Regions from separate parts of the Homo sapiens genome. Here all the other regions are linked to region 5. Evidence: promoter capture Hi-C in 16 types of primary human blood cells and fetal thymus (Javierre and others, 2016). All regions are on one chromosome and are shown on one strand. Each heading gives the region's core, a stretch centred on a gene start or on the middle of the fragment in contact. The rest is flanking DNA. Distances are from core to core; before and after follow the strand shown.

The links. The method cuts DNA at HindIII sites, captures the fragments that hold promoters and counts their contacts. A CHiCAGO score of 5 or more calls a contact.
Region 1: a contact is called between a fragment that was not itself captured here and the fragment with the promoter of DUSP5 in region 5, in 14 of 17 cell types (monocytes, neutrophils, naive B cells and 11 more). The highest score is 13.8, in monocytes.
Region 2: a contact is called between a fragment that was not itself captured here and the fragment with the promoter of DUSP5 in region 5, in 4 of 17 cell types (naive CD8 T cells, total CD4 T cells, non-activated CD4 T cells and 1 more). The highest score is 9.3, in naive CD8 T cells.
Region 3: a fragment that was not itself captured here is called in contact with the fragment with the promoter of DUSP5 in region 5 in 8 of 17 cell types (neutrophils, monocytes, activated CD4 T cells and 5 more); the score reaches 13.5 in neutrophils.
Region 4: a fragment that was not itself captured here is called in contact with the fragment with the promoter of DUSP5 in region 5 in 3 of 17 cell types (activated CD4 T cells, naive CD8 T cells and M2 macrophages); the score reaches 8.4 in activated CD4 T cells.
Region 6: a contact is called between a fragment that was not itself captured here and the fragment with the promoter of DUSP5 in region 5, in 2 of 17 cell types (neutrophils and monocytes). The highest score is 5.4, in neutrophils.

What each region holds. Positions count from the first base shown.
Region 1 is chr10:109,911,674-109,914,373 of GRCh38, reverse strand. The region is part of intron 2 of XPNPEP1 (X-prolyl aminopeptidase 1); the gene reads left to right. Among named protein-coding and RNA genes, the nearest start is that of XPNPEP1, 10 kb to the left of the region's middle. RefSeq lists enhancers at 483-1,138, 1,485-1,534. The HindIII fragment of the contact is 2,633 bases long and covers 71-2,700 here.
Region 2 is chr10:109,876,915-109,879,614 of GRCh38, reverse strand. It overlaps XPNPEP1 (X-prolyl aminopeptidase 1), which reads left to right. Exons shown (of 21, transcript NM_020383.4): 13 at 1,557-1,615; 14 at 1,748-1,825. Among named protein-coding and RNA genes, the nearest start is that of XPNPEP1, 45 kb to the left of the region's middle. The HindIII fragment of the contact is 6,015 bases long and covers 1-2,700 here.
Region 3 is chr10:109,930,912-109,933,611 of GRCh38, reverse strand. No RefSeq gene overlaps it. Among named protein-coding and RNA genes, the nearest start is that of XPNPEP1, 8.8 kb to the right of the region's middle. The HindIII fragment of the contact is 4,489 bases long and covers 1-2,700 here.
Region 4 is chr10:109,894,666-109,897,365 of GRCh38, reverse strand. The region is part of intron 3 of XPNPEP1 (X-prolyl aminopeptidase 1); the gene reads left to right. Among named protein-coding and RNA genes, the nearest start is that of XPNPEP1, 27 kb to the left of the region's middle. The HindIII fragment of the contact is 1,399 bases long and covers 616-2,014 here.
Region 5 is chr10:110,496,541-110,499,240 of GRCh38, reverse strand. DUSP5 (dual specificity phosphatase 5) reads right to left here and starts at 1,334. Exons shown (of 4, transcript NM_004419.4): 1 at 741-1,334. The coding sequence starts at 1,119. RefSeq lists silencers at 608-877, 998-1,057, 1,128-1,267, 1,278-1,807 and an enhancer at 2,289-2,700. The HindIII fragment of the contact is 7,811 bases long and covers 1-2,700 here.
Region 6 is chr10:109,946,977-109,949,676 of GRCh38, reverse strand. It overlaps ADD3-AS1 (ADD3 antisense RNA 1), which reads left to right. Exons shown (of 5, transcript NR_038943.1): 4 at 2,401-2,481. Among named protein-coding and RNA genes, the nearest start is that of XPNPEP1, 25 kb to the right of the region's middle. The HindIII fragment of the contact is 3,875 bases long and covers 1-2,700 here.

The DNA of each region.
Region 1 (2,700 bases), core at 138-2,637, 580 kb after region 5:
AATATAGTCCTTCATTATCTTAGAAATTAGCTTTCAATTTTGATCATAAGATTGCAAAATGAGAAAAGCTTGTAATATATTATTGTCCTTTATAAATTGAGTGTGCATTTAGGAAAGTCTTTTTGGGAAATATTTCTTGGCTGTCCCTTCTCCCCAGAACTGGTTAATTGTCTGATGGGTTGCCAGAAACCTGAATTCTGAAAAGTGGTGTATTACTGTATTTCTATCCCAGTAAGCCAGTACTGCTCTAACGACTACTAAGGAGAACCATGTGTTTTTTTTTTTTTTAGCTGACTGAAAAATTGATCTCTTGAAGTACATAAGAAACCATGCCCGTCTAATCTCTGTTTGGAAGATCAGTGCTATAATTGCATGCAATTTTAGATCCTTTTTCTTTAAAAAATATAGATGTATCCAACACATTTTGGACCATATTAGGAGGTAGCAGAGGAAGGAGGAAAAAGAGAAAGTAAAGAAAGGAAAAAAGTGATGGAATCATTAAACTTAGAGTTGGAAGATAACTTCTTTTTCTTTTTGTAATGTATGAGGAAATAGAGGTTAGGTAGCTTCAGTTGCCTGAGGTTGTAGATCCCAGCTGGAAACTGGAGCTCACTTGTTTTGCTTCTGTTGGTCTTAGAACACTTTAAGGCTCTATTATGTCCCCCAGCTAATATGGTGTAATAGAGCATGGACTTGGGAATTGCATAGACCTTGAGTCCCGGTTCCTGATGAACCAGCTGACTTTGGGCAAGTACTTAACTCCTTTTAACTCCTGTTCCTTTATGTGTAAAATGAGAATAGTGAAACCTCCCTTGGAGGATTGTTGTGAGAATTAGCCACTAATGTATGTAAAGCCCTTAGCGTTCCCTCAGCTGTGCAACAGAGAAACAAACCACTACCTCTAAAGCTATTGATGCTGGAAGAGCATCTGTGCCCGTGTTAAGATGCTGAAATTGGAGTAAACTGGCCCCTTCCATTCTTATAACGAGACTTGGGAATTCCAGCTGGTGCTTCAGATCCAGATTCAAATATTTCTTGAGCTCCTGCAGTGTAATAGATGCTGTGCATGGTGCTTTCACACACATTATCATGTTTAATTTGCCTGGCCACCAGTGAGGTAAGTATGGTGTGCTTTTCATGTACAATCAGTGAAAAATCTTGTTTGTGATAAAGGCTGAAGGTGTGGGAACTTATTTCTAAAAGCAGACCTGTATATGCAAGACTTTTAAGTGAGTCATTCTCTGTAAGGCATAGTTTGAAAATACCTGGCAGTGTATGGGCTAATGTTTCATCGTGGACTAGGCCTGTTGCTCTTGGCTTCCTACTTTGCTGCATACTTTGCTTAGCTCTTGGCTGTTTCTAACATTTCTGAAAAGTCATAGGATGTGGAATGAGCAGATGTCATAATACAGCACCTTGCAAGAGCCTATCTGTCACTGAAGATTCATTACTGTTCATTGAGACTGAAAAGATCATAGATCCAATGTTGTGAATTTGATTTAGCCATCTTTGAGTGAGCATATGTATATGTTAATTGTAGATACATGGATACAGAGATGACATCATCCCTGCCTTCCGGAGAAGTGGTATACACACCTGTTTACACAATTTATCACATTGCATTTATGGTTAGTTGTGTGTCTAACTCTAATAACATTAAACATTTACATGACATTTGTTATGTGCCAGGTACTGTTTCTAAGTGCCATATGTATAGTAACTCATTTACTCCTTATACAAATTATGAGGGTCATTAGCTACAACTTTCACTTCCTCCATCTTGGCTGCCTTTTCAACCAGTGCCACCTCAATGGCTAGGACTTATATAATTGCACCAACTTTGTTCTCTCCTTAGCTCCAGCTGCTCACTCATTCAATCACTTTCCATCACCTGTTTTCCTTGTGGGTACAGCTGCCTCAACCACCAGGGCCCACTGTATTCACTTCAGTGGTAGCTGCCTCACTGCCTCAGCCATTGCCTGTTGCTATCTTCTTCACCTTCACTGTTGCTGCCACTGCCCCTTACCACATCCTAACTATTGGTTATGGTATTGGGACTTCTTTCATCATGTCTAATATTGATGATAAAGAAGTAGCTGCATTGCACCCAGAACATGAATGTGATCGGCCTGAAGGATGAGGAAGTAGGAAGAGGGAAAGTGTTGAGTGTTGATGGGGGTAGGTAGCATTGTGGAGGGGAGTGTCAGTGAGACTGATAAAGCTGATGATTCTGTGGGGGTCTGATATGCCAGTCACCAGGGGAAACGTGATGATGTGATGGTGGTAGTGATGAAGATCAGAATGTGGGAATGAGGAGGCAGGTTGTGATGACCAGGAAGCAGAGGATGTTTTTGAACAGATCCAGTTTGTTTTTGTTGGTTTTTAGTTTGCAGTTGAAGATTTTGTGCTCATGATTGGTTGTGTTAACGTTATTGATGAAGTTAGTGACTGATAATATTGATACTACAATCAGCACTAAACACCCAGTCAGTGCCACCAAAATCCTTACGTCAGAATGTACCTGAATGGAAGGCAGAGTCTATAAAGAAATAAATGATCTTGAAAGAAAGTATATTAGACTCTTATATTTTTGCATTTTAAAACTCCTGAAGCCAAGGCTGTACTCCAGACCAGTTAAGTCAGATGTTTCCCGGATAGTCCTAATGTGCAGCCAGTGTTGAAGTCCTGCTCCTAAAGAAA
Region 2 (2,700 bases), core at 105-2,604, 620 kb after region 5:
CATCTATGTAAATTATTATTATTATTTTATTTTATTTTATTTTTTGAGACGGAGTCTCACTCTGTCACCCAGGCTGGAGTGCAGTGGTGTGATCTCGGCTCACTGCAACCTCTGCTGCCCAGGTTCAAGAGATTCTCCTGCCTTAGCCTCCCAAGTAGCTGGGATTATAGGCGCCTGCCACTGCGCCTGGCTAATTTTCGTAGTTGTAGTAGAGATGGGGTTTCACCATCTTGGCCAGGCTGGTCTTGAACTCCTGACCTTGTGATCCACCCACCTCGGCCTCCCAAAGTGCTGGGATTACAGGCATGAGCCACCATGCCTGGACTTTATGTAAATTATTATTATTACATTTTTATTATTTTTTTTTATTTTTGAGACAGAGCCTTGCTCCATCGCCCAGGCTGGAGTGCAGTGGAGCGATCTCGGCTCACTGCAAGCTCCGTCTCCTGGGTTCACGCCATTCTCCTGCCTCAGCCTCCCGACTAGCTGGGACTACAGGCGCCCGCCACCATGCTTGGCTAATTTTTTGTATTTTTAGTAGAGACGGGGTTTCACTGTGTTAGCCAGGATGGTCTCGATCTCCTGACCTTGTGATCCGCCCGCCTCGGCCTCCCAAAGTGCTGGGATTACAGGCGTGAGCCACCGTGCCTGGCCGTAAATTATTTTTAAAAATATAAATTATTTTTACATGTCTCTTAGTGTGCAGATAAATTTTTTTTCTTTTTTTTTTTCTTATTTTGAGATGGGGTCTCATCTGTTGCACAGGCTGGAGAGTAGTGGTGTGATCACAGCTCACTGCAGCCTCAGCCTCCCCAAGCTCAGGTGATCCTCCCACCTCAGCCTCCCGATTAGTTGGGACTACAGCCCACCTGATTTTTTCTGATTTTTTTGTAGAGATAAGGTTTTGCCATGTTGCCCAGGCTGATCTGAAACTCCTGGGCTCAAGCGATCCACCTATCTTGGCCTCCCAAAGTGCTAGGATTATAGGTGTGAGCCATCACACCTGGCTTAGATATGATTTTGTGTTTTATTTTATTCTCTTAGAATCATAGTGTGAACATTTTCCATGTACATTGAGGCCTTAAAAAAGGATCCAAATGAAAACTGCATCTAGTGGCTCTTCTGATTTACTAACCCAGTCCTCCTATTTTTAAATGTTTGGGTTGTTTTTAATTTTTTGCTGTTATCAGTAATCCTGCAATAATCTCTCCGCATTTATCTTTTTTATTTCTCTAGAATGATTTTCTTACGATGATTTCTTAGGAGGGGATGCTTTTGAATTTTTAAACTTAGATATGTTGTTTTGGGAGGTTTTAGGATAAAATACTGAAGCACAATAGTTGAGTGAAAAATTAAATGAATAGAAACTATTGGATTTTAGATAGCTTTGGTGAGAGCCTTTGGGAGTTCTCCCTTGCTAAAGATGTGTCCTGTAGATTGGTCAGTTGGGATGAAGCAATTGAGGAAAAAGTGAGCTTTTAATGTACCTCCTCTAATTTGTAAGAGGCACACATGAATTTATCTCACCAGATGATTTATAAGCAATTTTCTCATAGGTTCCCAAAGGTGGTGTGACAGAGATCTCAGCTGCTGACAAAGCTGAGGAGTTTCGCAGGTAAGGATCCATTTGGGGGGACCCAGGAGCCTCGTGCTGATTTTCTTGCTAGTTGAATGAGGCTGGAAGGGCCCTGAATCTTAGCACAGTAAAAACCTTTAAGCCACTCTGCTTTCTGTCTTTCTGTTACAGGCAACAGGCAGACTTTGTGGACCTGAGCTTCCCAACAATTTCCAGTACGGGACCCAACGGCGCCATCATTCACTACGCGTAAGGCATGCGGAGGAGCATGCTGCCTGGCCTTGCTGCTTCTGCACAGGAGCCTGAGCAGGGGAGAGACATTATTTTACCAGAGGCCTCTGTGCCCACCTTCATCTGTCTGTTGAGACTGTAAAATGAAGGGAAATAAGACTTCTAAGATTTTATTTTCTCCCAATCCCCAAGCCTCTGCCTTTTGGGAGCCTCTTCTTAGGCTCAGTATGGCACTGGCATTCTCTGCAGGGTAGTCAGATGGGTGTCCCTCTTTCCTTTTTGAAGCTGCAGGAACTGTATGCATAGCCCTTGCATCTTGATGACTAAGTTTTTTTTTTTTTGGAGACAAGGTCTTGCTCTGCTGCCCAGGCTGGAGCGCAGTGGTGCCATCACAACTCACTGCAACTTTGAACTCCTAGACTCAAGCAATCCTCCTGCCTCAGCCTCCTGAGTAGCTGGGACTATAGGCATGTGCTACCACTCCTGGCTAATTTTTAGATTTTTTTGTAGAGATGAGGATCTTGATGTGTTGCCCAGGCTTGTCTCGAATTTCTGGACTCAAGCAATCCTCCTGCCTCAGCCTCCTAAAGTGCTGGAATTACAGGTGTGAGCCACTGTGCTTGGCCCATGACTGGAATTTTTGAGTAGTTTTCTTTCTTGGTAACAGCAGCTGTTTTGTACTAGTCCATACATCTTGTGAGCTCCATCAGTTCCATACCAAAAAAAAACTTAGTAGTAGGTTGTGAGGCAACCTGTTTTGGGTGGAGAGATAATCAGTACCCTCTCTTCCTGTCCCCCTGAGCCTGAAGCCTGGCATCCCAGTATGTGGTTTTTTTACCACGTGGTCTACAAGAACCCATGGACCCACAGGGCCGAGCCTCCCTTCCTTGTGA
Region 3 (2,700 bases), core at 72-2,571, 570 kb after region 5:
CCCGGGTTCACGCCATTCTCCCACCTCAGCCTCCCGAGTAGCTGGGACTACAGGCGCCCGCCACCACGCCCGGTTAATTTTTTGTATTTTTAGTAGAGACGGGGTTTCACCGTGTTAGCCAGGATGGTCTCGATCTCCTGACCTCGTGATCCACCCCCCTCGGCCTCCCAAAGTGCTGGGGTTACAAGCTCGAGCCACCGCGCCTGGCCGAAATTTCTTCATTTTTATGAGTTGGCAACTATTTTCTAAAAAATCTTAAAATACCTTGTAGGGTAAGCTAAATACATCTATGGGCTAGAATCAGCCCATGGTACCCGGAATCACCTAATTCTCCACTCTGTTCTATGTATGAATGCAGCCCTTGCTCTTGGAATTATAATTGCCCCAGTGTTTGCTAAGCACAGCTGGCTGAGAGACTATAGGGTGAACTGATCAGAGGAATAGAGGGGAATCAGAAGACCTGGGTTTCAGTCTTATTCTCTAATAAGCAGCTGTGTGGCCTTGCTCACATGACTCTCGGTTTGGTTAGAGCATCTTTATGTATAAAATGAAGGCATTGATGAAGGAATCCTTAGGGCCCCTTCTAGTTCCAAATTTCCACGTCTATGCCTTTAAATGATTGAATTACTTTATTTTGTTTGTATCTAAAATACCTAGGCTAGATACTTAGAGACTTTGGCTTAAGTAGCACTGTGGTAACAATTCTGATTTACAAGAGTGAAGGGACCCTTGAAGTGTGATTTCTCCAACGGAGTCCTTAACAGGAGAGGCTAAAGAAGGGTTCACTCTAAAATTAAATGCCACTCCACTTCCCCAAGGGCAAAAGCAATTAGGAATTTCATTTGAAATCTGGGGACAGTTGATGGAAAAAAGAAAACAAATATATTAATAAAGAGTAATAAGAATAGGCATTGCTGGTGGGAAAGGTGCAGCCACTTTAAAAAAAACCAGTTCATCAGTTATTCAAAATGTTAGGCATAGAGTTACCCTATGACTCAGAAATTCCATCCTAGGTATTTATCCAAGAAAAATGAAATCTACCTACAAAAAAACTTATGCACAAATGTTCTCGCAGCATTATTCATAACAGCCAAGAAGTAGAAACAACCTAAAAGTCCATTTGAATGGATAAGTAAAATGTGGTACATTCATACAGTGGAATATTATTCTGCAAAAAAGGAATGAAATATTGATGAATGCTACATTACAGATGAATCTTGAGAACACTATGATAAGTGAAAGAGGCCAGTCACAGAGCATGATATGTTGTAGGATTTCATTTATCTGAAATGCTTGGAAGAGGCAACTCTATAGAGATAGAAAGCCCATTAGTGGTTGCCTGTGACTGGGGAGGATGGGAGGAAAGAAGAGTGATGCTAAAGGATATGAGATTTCTTTTTGGGGTGATAAAAATGTCCTAAAATTGGCTGGGCACACTGGCTCATGACTGTAATCCCAGCACTTTGGGAGGCCAAGGCAGGAAGATCACCTGAGGTCAGGAGTTTGAGACTAGCCTGGCCAACATGGTGAAAACCTGTCTCTACTAAAAATACAAAAATTAGCCGGGCATGGTGGCAGACGCTTGTAATCCCAGCTACTTGGGAGGCTGAGGCAGGAGAATCGCTTGAACCCGGGAGGCAGAGGTTGCAGTGAGCCGAGATTGCACCACTGCACTCCAGTCTGGGCAATAGAGTGAGACTCTGTCGCAAAACAAACAAACAAACAAAAAAAACAAAACCCTAAAAGTGCCTGTGGAGATGGTTGTAAAACCCTGAATATAATAAAAGACATGAATTGGACACTTTAAAGAGGCAAATTGAATGGTAATGAGAACTAACATCTCAATAAAGCTGTTTAAAAAAGAAAAAGTAAGGGTAAAAAGGTTATTAAATTGAAGGAGTAGATGAATAAAACATTAAACATAGGTTAATGAGAAACTAAGGAAAAGAATATATATGACTAGGTTATATTACTAAGATATCTTTTAGAACTACTCATTGTATTTTGAGAAGGGGCTGCTTTTAGCAGGCAAATTGTGATCAGGGAAAGGGATGATTAACAATAATAAATAGTGATTTTCATTCTTGGATATGGTCCTAGGCACTAATTGTTTTTCTGAGTATTTTTATGCACTGTTTTGCAGCTCAGGCAGCCTGTTACTCTGTTTTTCAGCTCCAATTGTTTGAGTTTGGCAGATTTGAGTTAGTAATGAGGATGCATTATGGCAAGGGACACTCATGACATCAGTACACACAGGGCTGCCAGAATTCTGGGGGCTCTGCCAAGCCCCAATGAGTTGCCCCATGCCTTGCAAAATCCAAATTGCAAAACAAGAAGAGTGAGGACTTGCTAGCTGGTGTTAAGTTTGGGGGATTCTATGTTTAGGTGCGAAAGGTGAAACCATTCTGACAAGAAGTAGTTACCTTAGCTTAATTGCAAGGGCAATTTCAGTGAAGTTGAAATCCAGGCCATGTTTGTCAGATTCTCCAGGAGGAGGAGTCACAAATTTGGACATCAATAGTGGTCTGGCAGGTAAAGTAGAACAGTGTAAGTGGTTAAATGGAGGGCTCTCTGTCCCATTTCATGGGGCCAGTCCCTGCGCTGTTCATGTTCCTTGTTACTGTATAGAAGGAAAGACTAGTATTGCCAAACCAACCTTCCGATTTTTCAAAAGAGACCGAAGACACAGATTTTTATTTT
Region 4 (2,700 bases), core at 66-2,565, 600 kb after region 5:
TGTGGGAGCCTCTGAAAGCTGAAGTGGGTCAGGAAGCTTCATGGAAAAGGGAGCACTTGAACCAGATTTTTGAGAGATGACTAGCTTTTTTTTTTTTTGTAGTTTACAGATGCTTTATTTGGCTATGTATTGTTTATATTGTTGGAATTAGATGCCAACATTTAAAAATTGGGTAATTTCTCATGAACCCATATTTCTGGCTTCTTCTGAAATATTGAAGGTTAGCAACATGTGGCCTGCATTTCAGAAATCAGAGCTGAGTAGGAGCTGCTGTCTTTAGAAAAGATATCCTTTGTCCTGTACCCTGAGGTATTTGAATTTGAAACCCCATTTATAATCCCTTACGATCTTTTCCCCATTAGATAATGTATTAGTTTCCTATCACTGCTATAACAAATTACCACAGTGACTTAAAACAAATTTATTCTCTTATGGTTCTGGAAGTCTGAAGTCTAAAATGGGTCAGCAGGGCTATGTTACTTCTGCAGGCTCCAGGGAGAGTCCATTTCCTTGCCTTTTCCAGTTTCTGGAGGCCACCTGCATTCCTTGGCTCATGGTCCCTTCGTCCATCTTCGTAGATATGGTTGAGGTTTTAACTGGATGTAGGGAAAAGCTTCATGTCTCTTTCTGCTTGTTCATTTATAATACAAATGTGGGTTGAGGATCTAGTCACCTGTGCTGAGTGCAGGGACAGGACAGATACCCTGATCTCATGGAACTTATATGCTTGGGGTTAAGATGGGGGTTGAGGAACAAGACAATAAACATATAAAAAGTTCATTAAGAAGAGAAACATTGCCCAGCATGGTGGCTCTTGCCTGTAATCCTAGCACTTTGGGAGGCTGAGGCAGGCTGATCACTTGAGCCCAGAAGTTCAAGGCCAGCCTGGCAACGTGGTAAAACCCCGTTTCTACAAAAAAAAAAAAAAAAAAGGTGTGTGCCTGCTGTAGTCCCAGCTATTGAGAAGATTGAGGTGGGAGGATTGCTTGAACCTGACAGGTCAAGGATACAATGAGCCATAATTGTGTCACCACACTCTAGCTAGGGTAACAGAAGGCGATCCTGTCTCCAAAAGAAAAAAAAAAAAAAAAAGACAAATATCTAGAGTATGTGTGTGCTATACAGAGACTTAAAAGTGGCCAGGTGGCTATTATAGCTGGGTAGTACAGGTAGGCCTCTCTGTAGAGGTGATATTTGATCTCAAATGTAATGATGAGAAGGACCTAGCCATACCATGATCAGAAATACTTTTATAGGCACAAGGAAGCACATGTGCCAAGGCCTTGAGGCAGGAATGAGCTCAGGATATGCAAAGAGCAGAAAGGAGGTGGGTGTGTCTGGAGCATGGTGAATGGGAGCAGAGCTGCAAGAGGACTGGCAAAGTCAGATCAGCTGGTACCTTGACTGGGCCAGAGTTTGGATTTTATCTTAAATATAATAGGAAGCCATTGGAGGGTTTTAAGGAGGTTGCTAACATGATCTTAGATATTTGGAAAAGCTCACTCTGAGTGTATGTGCAGAGTGGATTGTAGGGGCGGTAGTCCAGGTAGAGATGATGGAGGCTTGGACTGAGTGCTGCTATTAGAAATGGAGAGAAGTGGGTGGTTTTGAGAAAAAGCCAGCAGCTGTGCTTCTTTGTGCCTTTTTCCTAGCATGCTACAGCTTTGGTTTATTTTAGGCCCTATGCTGTGTTCTAAGGAGACCGCCCCTGGGCGTTGCCAGCTTCATGCCTGGGAGAAGGAGAGTGACAGCCCTGGGCCCAGTGCTTGTCTGGCTTCTGCATAGCCTGTCAGTGTGGAGGTGAGGCTGTGGCCAGCCTTGCTTAGCAATGTCTTTCTGGAATGTTGACCACTTAGGTCATGTCTGGACATTCTTACCCCAGACCTTGTCTCCATCCCAAACTAAACATGTCCATTTGCTGTTAATTCCACCTCCCTTTGGAGGAACTCTTTCCTTGCCTTTGCTGATGGAGAAGTCTAGGTAAACCCTGCGGATCTTCCATCTCTCCCAAGCTTGCCCAGAAAGGGGTGGGGCATCCCTAGAGTACTATGTCCCTGAATGGAAGAGTCCAGCCGGGCTCAGACCTGCACTGCATTCTCTGCCAGTCTTTGCCAGTATCTTCACCCTGTGTCACGGGTGGAAGAGCCCCAAGCCTGTGGCGTCATGTTGGTGGAGAGTGCCCTCACTGTGTATTCCCCATTGTGCGCAGTGATTTTTAGCACAAGAGTTATTTTTAACTTAGTTTTCCCAGCCCCTTAGATGTCTTCTCACTGTTTAGGAAGAAGAGATTAATAATATCTCTTCCATTGCATATGTGCAGCACTTTCAAGTTTCTGGTGAGTTTTGAAAGACATTAACTTACTGTTTCTCACAAGAGTCCTAGGAGATGTGTGGGCCACCCTTCCCCCCGTTGTTACTTTTTAATAAAAAGTCTTGCACACAGTAATTACTCGGTTAATAAACAAGTGAGGATTCTGCAGTTCCTAAACGATGCTGGTGGCCATTTCTTTCTATTTCCTTAGTGCTGTTGACCGAATGTTCTTTATGCTTTAGGAATAAAACGTGCTTGCTGTTGCATTTAGCAATCTGAAATGACCTGTCTTAGAGATGAGGAAATGAGGCTGAGAGAGCTGCCAGGACTTGTTGCAGACTATGCAGCTGGGCCTGGGCTAGTGGGCAGGTGGCCCAGAGCTGCTTTAT
Region 5 (2,700 bases), core at 85-2,584:
TCAAATCAAAGGCCGCAGAATCTCCATACCACCCTGCCCCCGCGCACCTCTATTTCGTGGCTGGCTGGCTGTAGGCTCAGCTCAGGATGGGTCCCAGGGATAATCCTGGGGCGGAGGAAGGAGGAGGTGAAAAGGGTGGAAAGGATGTGAGCTCCAAACTGAGCTAGAGAAAAGACCTAGGAGGGGAGAAGAGGCCGGAGGGAAACAATAAAAAGCAATAAAATGAAATGGAAAGGGAAGGGACTCGCCAGGTCAAAAAGGCAAGGGGGTCGGTGAAGACCACAGCTGGCTAGGCGGGAGGAAGGGGGGCACCACGGCGCCACACCAAGGGAGAGTGGATCGCGACCTGCTGATCCCGCCAGATCAGTCTATCAGGAAGGCCCCGAGCCCTGACCCCAGCGACAGCGGCGAAGCTCGCGTCTGGAAAGGGGGCTCGTGCCCGGCACGAGCCGACGGCCCCCAAACTGCTAAACAGCAGCAGCCCCCGCAGCATAACCAACTCCACCCAGACCACCGGGCAGACCCGCTGCCGGGCGCTTTCGAGGAACGCGGGTGGGGAAGAGGGGGAGCTCTGAGTGCTGACATTTGCAGTGCCCTCCCAAGCGCACAACAAGCCACAGGGTGCAGACTCCTGCAGGTGGTGACTCTCCCGGTCCCAGGGTGTAGGAGGGCGCCCCGGCGCAGGGAGGGGACCCGGGGGCGCCGGAGGGGCGAGCGTGGCAGGGACCCCGAGCGCTCACCTTTGAGGAAGTAGACCCGCGGGCCGGCGGGTAGGCAAGCGAGTAGCGAGGTGAGGACGACACGCGCGGCGCTCTCCTCTCGCAGCTTCTGCCAGTGGCGGCTGCCCTGGTCCAGCACCACCACGGCCGCGACGCCGCCGCCGCCCTCCTGCAGGAGCCGCGCGCGCGCCGCCTCGTCGGGCAGCACGTAGCGCGCCGACACCGCGCCGCCCCGGGCCCGCCGCAGCACCACCGAGTTGAGGTTGACGTTGAGCGAGCCGCGCACGTTCGAGGCAGCGAAGGCCAGATAGGGCCGGCAGTCGAGCACCACGCAGCGCGCCGCCGCCTCCTTGCGGAGCATCTTGCGCAGCTGGCGCCCGTCGAGCGACGTGACCTTCATGCCGCCGCCGCCGCCGGCCAGCGGCCCCGCGCCGCGCGCCCCGCGGGTGCCCACGGCCAGGGTGTCCACGGCCAGGGTGTCCGCGGGCGAGGCACGGGAGGGCGACCCGCGGGGCTGCGGCCGCGACGGAGCCCGGCGCCCGAGCGGCGGCGCAACTCCGCGTTCCCGCCCCGCTCGCTCGATAGCCAGCCCGGCCGCTCGCCGCCCTAGAAGCCGGGGATTCCGCCGGCCGCGCAGCGTTTTATGTGAATGAGTGCCGTCCGTGACGCGGCTGCCCATATAAGGCCAAATATGGGTGTTTCCCCGCCCCTCGGGCCGTGGCCACGCCCTGCAGGGGGCGGGGCAGCGGGGGCGAGGGACGCGCGGGGCGGGTGCCGGCGTTAGAGCGAGAGGAAGTGGAAGGCGCCTCTTCGTTCTCTCTTCCGCGCTTCGCTGAGGGACTCACTCGCGCATCACCCGCGGCTGCCGGTCGAGTGTCCCAGGCGCTCCGGGGCCGCGGTGACCCTCGCGGTGCGGACCGAGGAGGAAGCGCCGTGGGGGGCGGGGCGGCGCCGCACGATCCGGCCTTCAGCTTCACGGACGTGGGCTGAGAACCCGCCCGCGCCGCGCTGAGCAGGGCCGAGGGAGCCGGCCAGGGCCCCAGAGGAGTCCGGAACGGATTCCCGTCGCTACCGAGGTCTGCGCGTGTAAGGAGAGGACGTCGGAGATTTGCCTCGAGGGGTGGGGTATAGATGACTGGAGAGGTCAGGCGCGGGTTGGTCATCGCTGAGGCTGGGTGATGGGTGGCCGGATTCGTTATACTGTTTTCTCCACTTTTCTGTATGTTTGATATTTTTCATAATAAAGTTTGTAAAAGTAAAAACGGGGGTTGGGGGTCGGCGGTGAGAATAGCCATTTAATCTTCCTAAATGGATTCTGCCCTCAAAGGATTGACGCTCTTTTCTCTGTCACTCTCCAATAATGATTAGAATAATAAGTTGTATTTTGAGGAGCTGTTTTCTGGTCCCGGGGAGACCCTTGGTGAACTCAGCAGTACCATCAGCATGTATCCCACGATGGAGCTCAGTTCAGCCAACTGTTGTCCAGGTGGCTTCTGGATTTGGGGGATTATCTATGGATCAAGTTTAATCTCAGGCTGTCTGCCCCCACCGGTCCCCAGGGGCTTCAGGCCTCCCACCCCTATTCCTGGGGAAGCAGACACAATTCACCCATTCAGCAAGCATTTATTGAGGGTCAGCCGTGTGCCAGGGCTTTGCTAGCTGCGGGGACACATGGATGGAAACAGGTTTCTGCCCCCAAGCTCACTGCCAACCATTTTATTGTTAGCCTGGCTGGGACTGCTTGATGGAAAACAGTCTGCCCGCACTAGACAAGGGCTTGTTGACAACTGACATAAGGGAATGAGGTTTTCAGAAGGAAGCAGAGATCAAATTTTGAAATCAGATGCAATCAAATCAGACACCAGGACAGCCAGCATTGCCTCTGGGTCACAGATGCATCCACCCAAAGGCGCTGTCCTCGCCTTGCCAGTGGGGTCTTGGTGAAGACGTGATGCGGGGGCCTTCTTTCTTTTTGTGGTTA
Region 6 (2,700 bases), core at 15-2,514, 550 kb after region 5:
GAGGGAAATAGTGTTTAAGTGAACCAAATCAGAGGTTCTCCCTCAGTAGTCAGAGAGTAAGAGAATAATCAGTAAGAGAGAGTGAGAGAATCAGTTGGTAGGAAGAAAAAAGCCAAAAGATACATAGAGAGAAAAAAACAGTAAATACAATTCATGAAGTCGTAGAAGTCCTGAACAAGCTGCTCTATGGGGAGGGAAGAAGGATGGAATCAGGACTTCGTCAGTTGCAACAGGAGCCGCTGAAGTAGAAGGAGAGAGAAAGGAAACAGCGGAGGCATGGTAATGGTAGGATGCCAGGGACCAGTCAGCACCAGACCTGAAAGTCCATGAGATAACCTGCTGATTTGACTACCAGCTTCCAGATCCCAAACCAAGAGCAAAACTCCCTAAGACTCCCAAACTCCCTAGGCTGGGCCGTGGATTTTTTTCTTTCTGTGCGGTCTGGTGGTTTAGCTTGGTTCACACGAGAGGCCTACCAACTTGGCTGAGCTTTCTTATTTCTATTTCTATCATTACAATGAATCTCCATAATTTCTGGTGTGAAGGTAACCTAACCTAGAAGGGAAGCACTCTTAGCTTTGTTTGTGCTGTTCAACACACCATCCAGGCGAAGGGGACCCACCCCACCCCTGTCCATCTCTCACTGCCATGCATATCTCCAGATACTGATACCTGCTGGAACTGACCTGGAACTTCTGACCCTAGGCCTTATAGCACTGCCTGCCCGTATGAAATCTTGGTTCTGGAATCTTCCCATCCTCACTGACCTAGTGCCTAGCACAGTGTCTGACACATGCCTGGAGAACAATGACTATATGCACAAATGCAGTCAAATTCATCTCTTTTGGCTTGAGTGGTTGTGGTGGAGAGGAGATAGAAGCCCTGAATGTGAGTTCTGGCTCTGCAACTTCCTCACTACATAACCATGGGCAAGCTACTCAAATCCTTTAAGCCTCCGTTTCCTCCTCTGTGAAATGAGGATGGCGTTATCTACCTGTTAGAGCTATTGTGAGGTTTAAAATAGCAGACATGTGAAAGCCTATATATAACAGGCCCTCTGAAAAACTTTACTGCATCTAAGTATAAGGAAGCTGCATTTTGTTAGGGTTGCACTTTATGAGACCTCAGATGAGTAGAAAACAAACAAACAAACAAATCTCATGATATAAGAGTCCTCTTGGCAAAGGATGGCAGCCATTTATGTTGGCCAGCTGGCAAGAGAAGAAGCAAAGTTTATAGTTTGCTGGGATTGCAGGTCAAAAATCTTGCAATTTTGGACAAATTTTTATTTTTAGATTATTTGGATTCTTTTCTTTTCTTTTCTTTTCTTTTTTTTTTTGAGATGGAGTCTCGCTCTGTCATCCAGGCTGGAGTGCAGTGGCGCAGTCATGGCTCACCGCAAGCTCTTCCTCCCAGGTTCACGCCATTATCCTGCTTCACCCTCCTGAGTAGCTGGGACTACAGGCGCTCACCACCATGCCTGGCTAATTTTTTTTTTTTTTTTGTATTTTTAATAGAGACGGGGTTTCACCGTGTTAGCCAGGATGGTCTTGATCTCCTGACCTCGTGATCCGCCCGCCTCAGCCTCCCAAAATACTGGGATTACAGGCGTGAGCCACCACGCCCAGCTTGGATTATTTTCAAAATTTCAAAAAGATGAATCTTTATTATTACTTTTGTATTAGTCTCCTTTAAATGTACTTAAATCAAATTTGCTTACAATATCCCTGCCCCCAATTCCATGATTTGAGGGAGAAGAAGATGAAAAATGTACTTTGTGATACAAAATGGATGACTCTTTATGGTCCTGCACAGCTGCATGTTCCAGCATCACATTAACCTCTGGATCTTCTCAGCATTCACTCTGGAATTTTTAAAATGTCATAACAGTGTATTTTCAAAATAATATCCTTGTGCACCCCCTCCTCCCCAATCGTGTAATATTGTCAGGATGTTTTATCTGGTGCCATATATCCTGCACATGACAAATCCATTTCCCCAAACAAACCATCGCATATGTCCACACTGTCCATAAATTTTGAATCCTGACATCAACACTATTACCCTCTGACGTTTGGGTTGGCCTGAGTTGTGCAAAATTGAGGGGGTGATGTTTTTAAGGAATGAGGGGATGTCACTCTTTTCTTTCTGATGGGTCCCCTCTGGAGAAAGTGATGTCGGGAACATGCAAAACTTAACCCTACTGGAGAAAGCCCCAGATACTCTCCCCAGGGTATCCAGAGATTAAACCGGCCAGATCTGTAAGCATCTCCACCTCTGGGGGTGATAACAAGGTCACCCTATACTTAGGTTTGGCTTTATAATAATACATCTGGCATCAATAGAGATTCCTTCTTTTCAGAGTGCTTTCCTATTTATGATCTCATTTTGCCCTTGCAGGAGGAAGAAAGGGAGCTGGTTAGGAAGCAAACTTGAGTTTCCCATGCTCTGTGGCTGAGCAAGTCACTTCACCATTCTCAGGTTCAGTTTCTTCATCTGTGAAGTGGTATTATAAGGGCTGTTGACTGCTTAGGGTTGTCTAAGTGCAAATGTTGCTGTGGGTTGGGCAGGAATGCTTTAGGAAATACAAAAAGCCATAGACAGAACTGCACTGTGATGATAAAAGTCATTTAGACACTCTGGAAGCTATAGAGCTGGAAGGAACTTCAGAAATAATAGTAAAGAGGTTTCAGTCTTTTA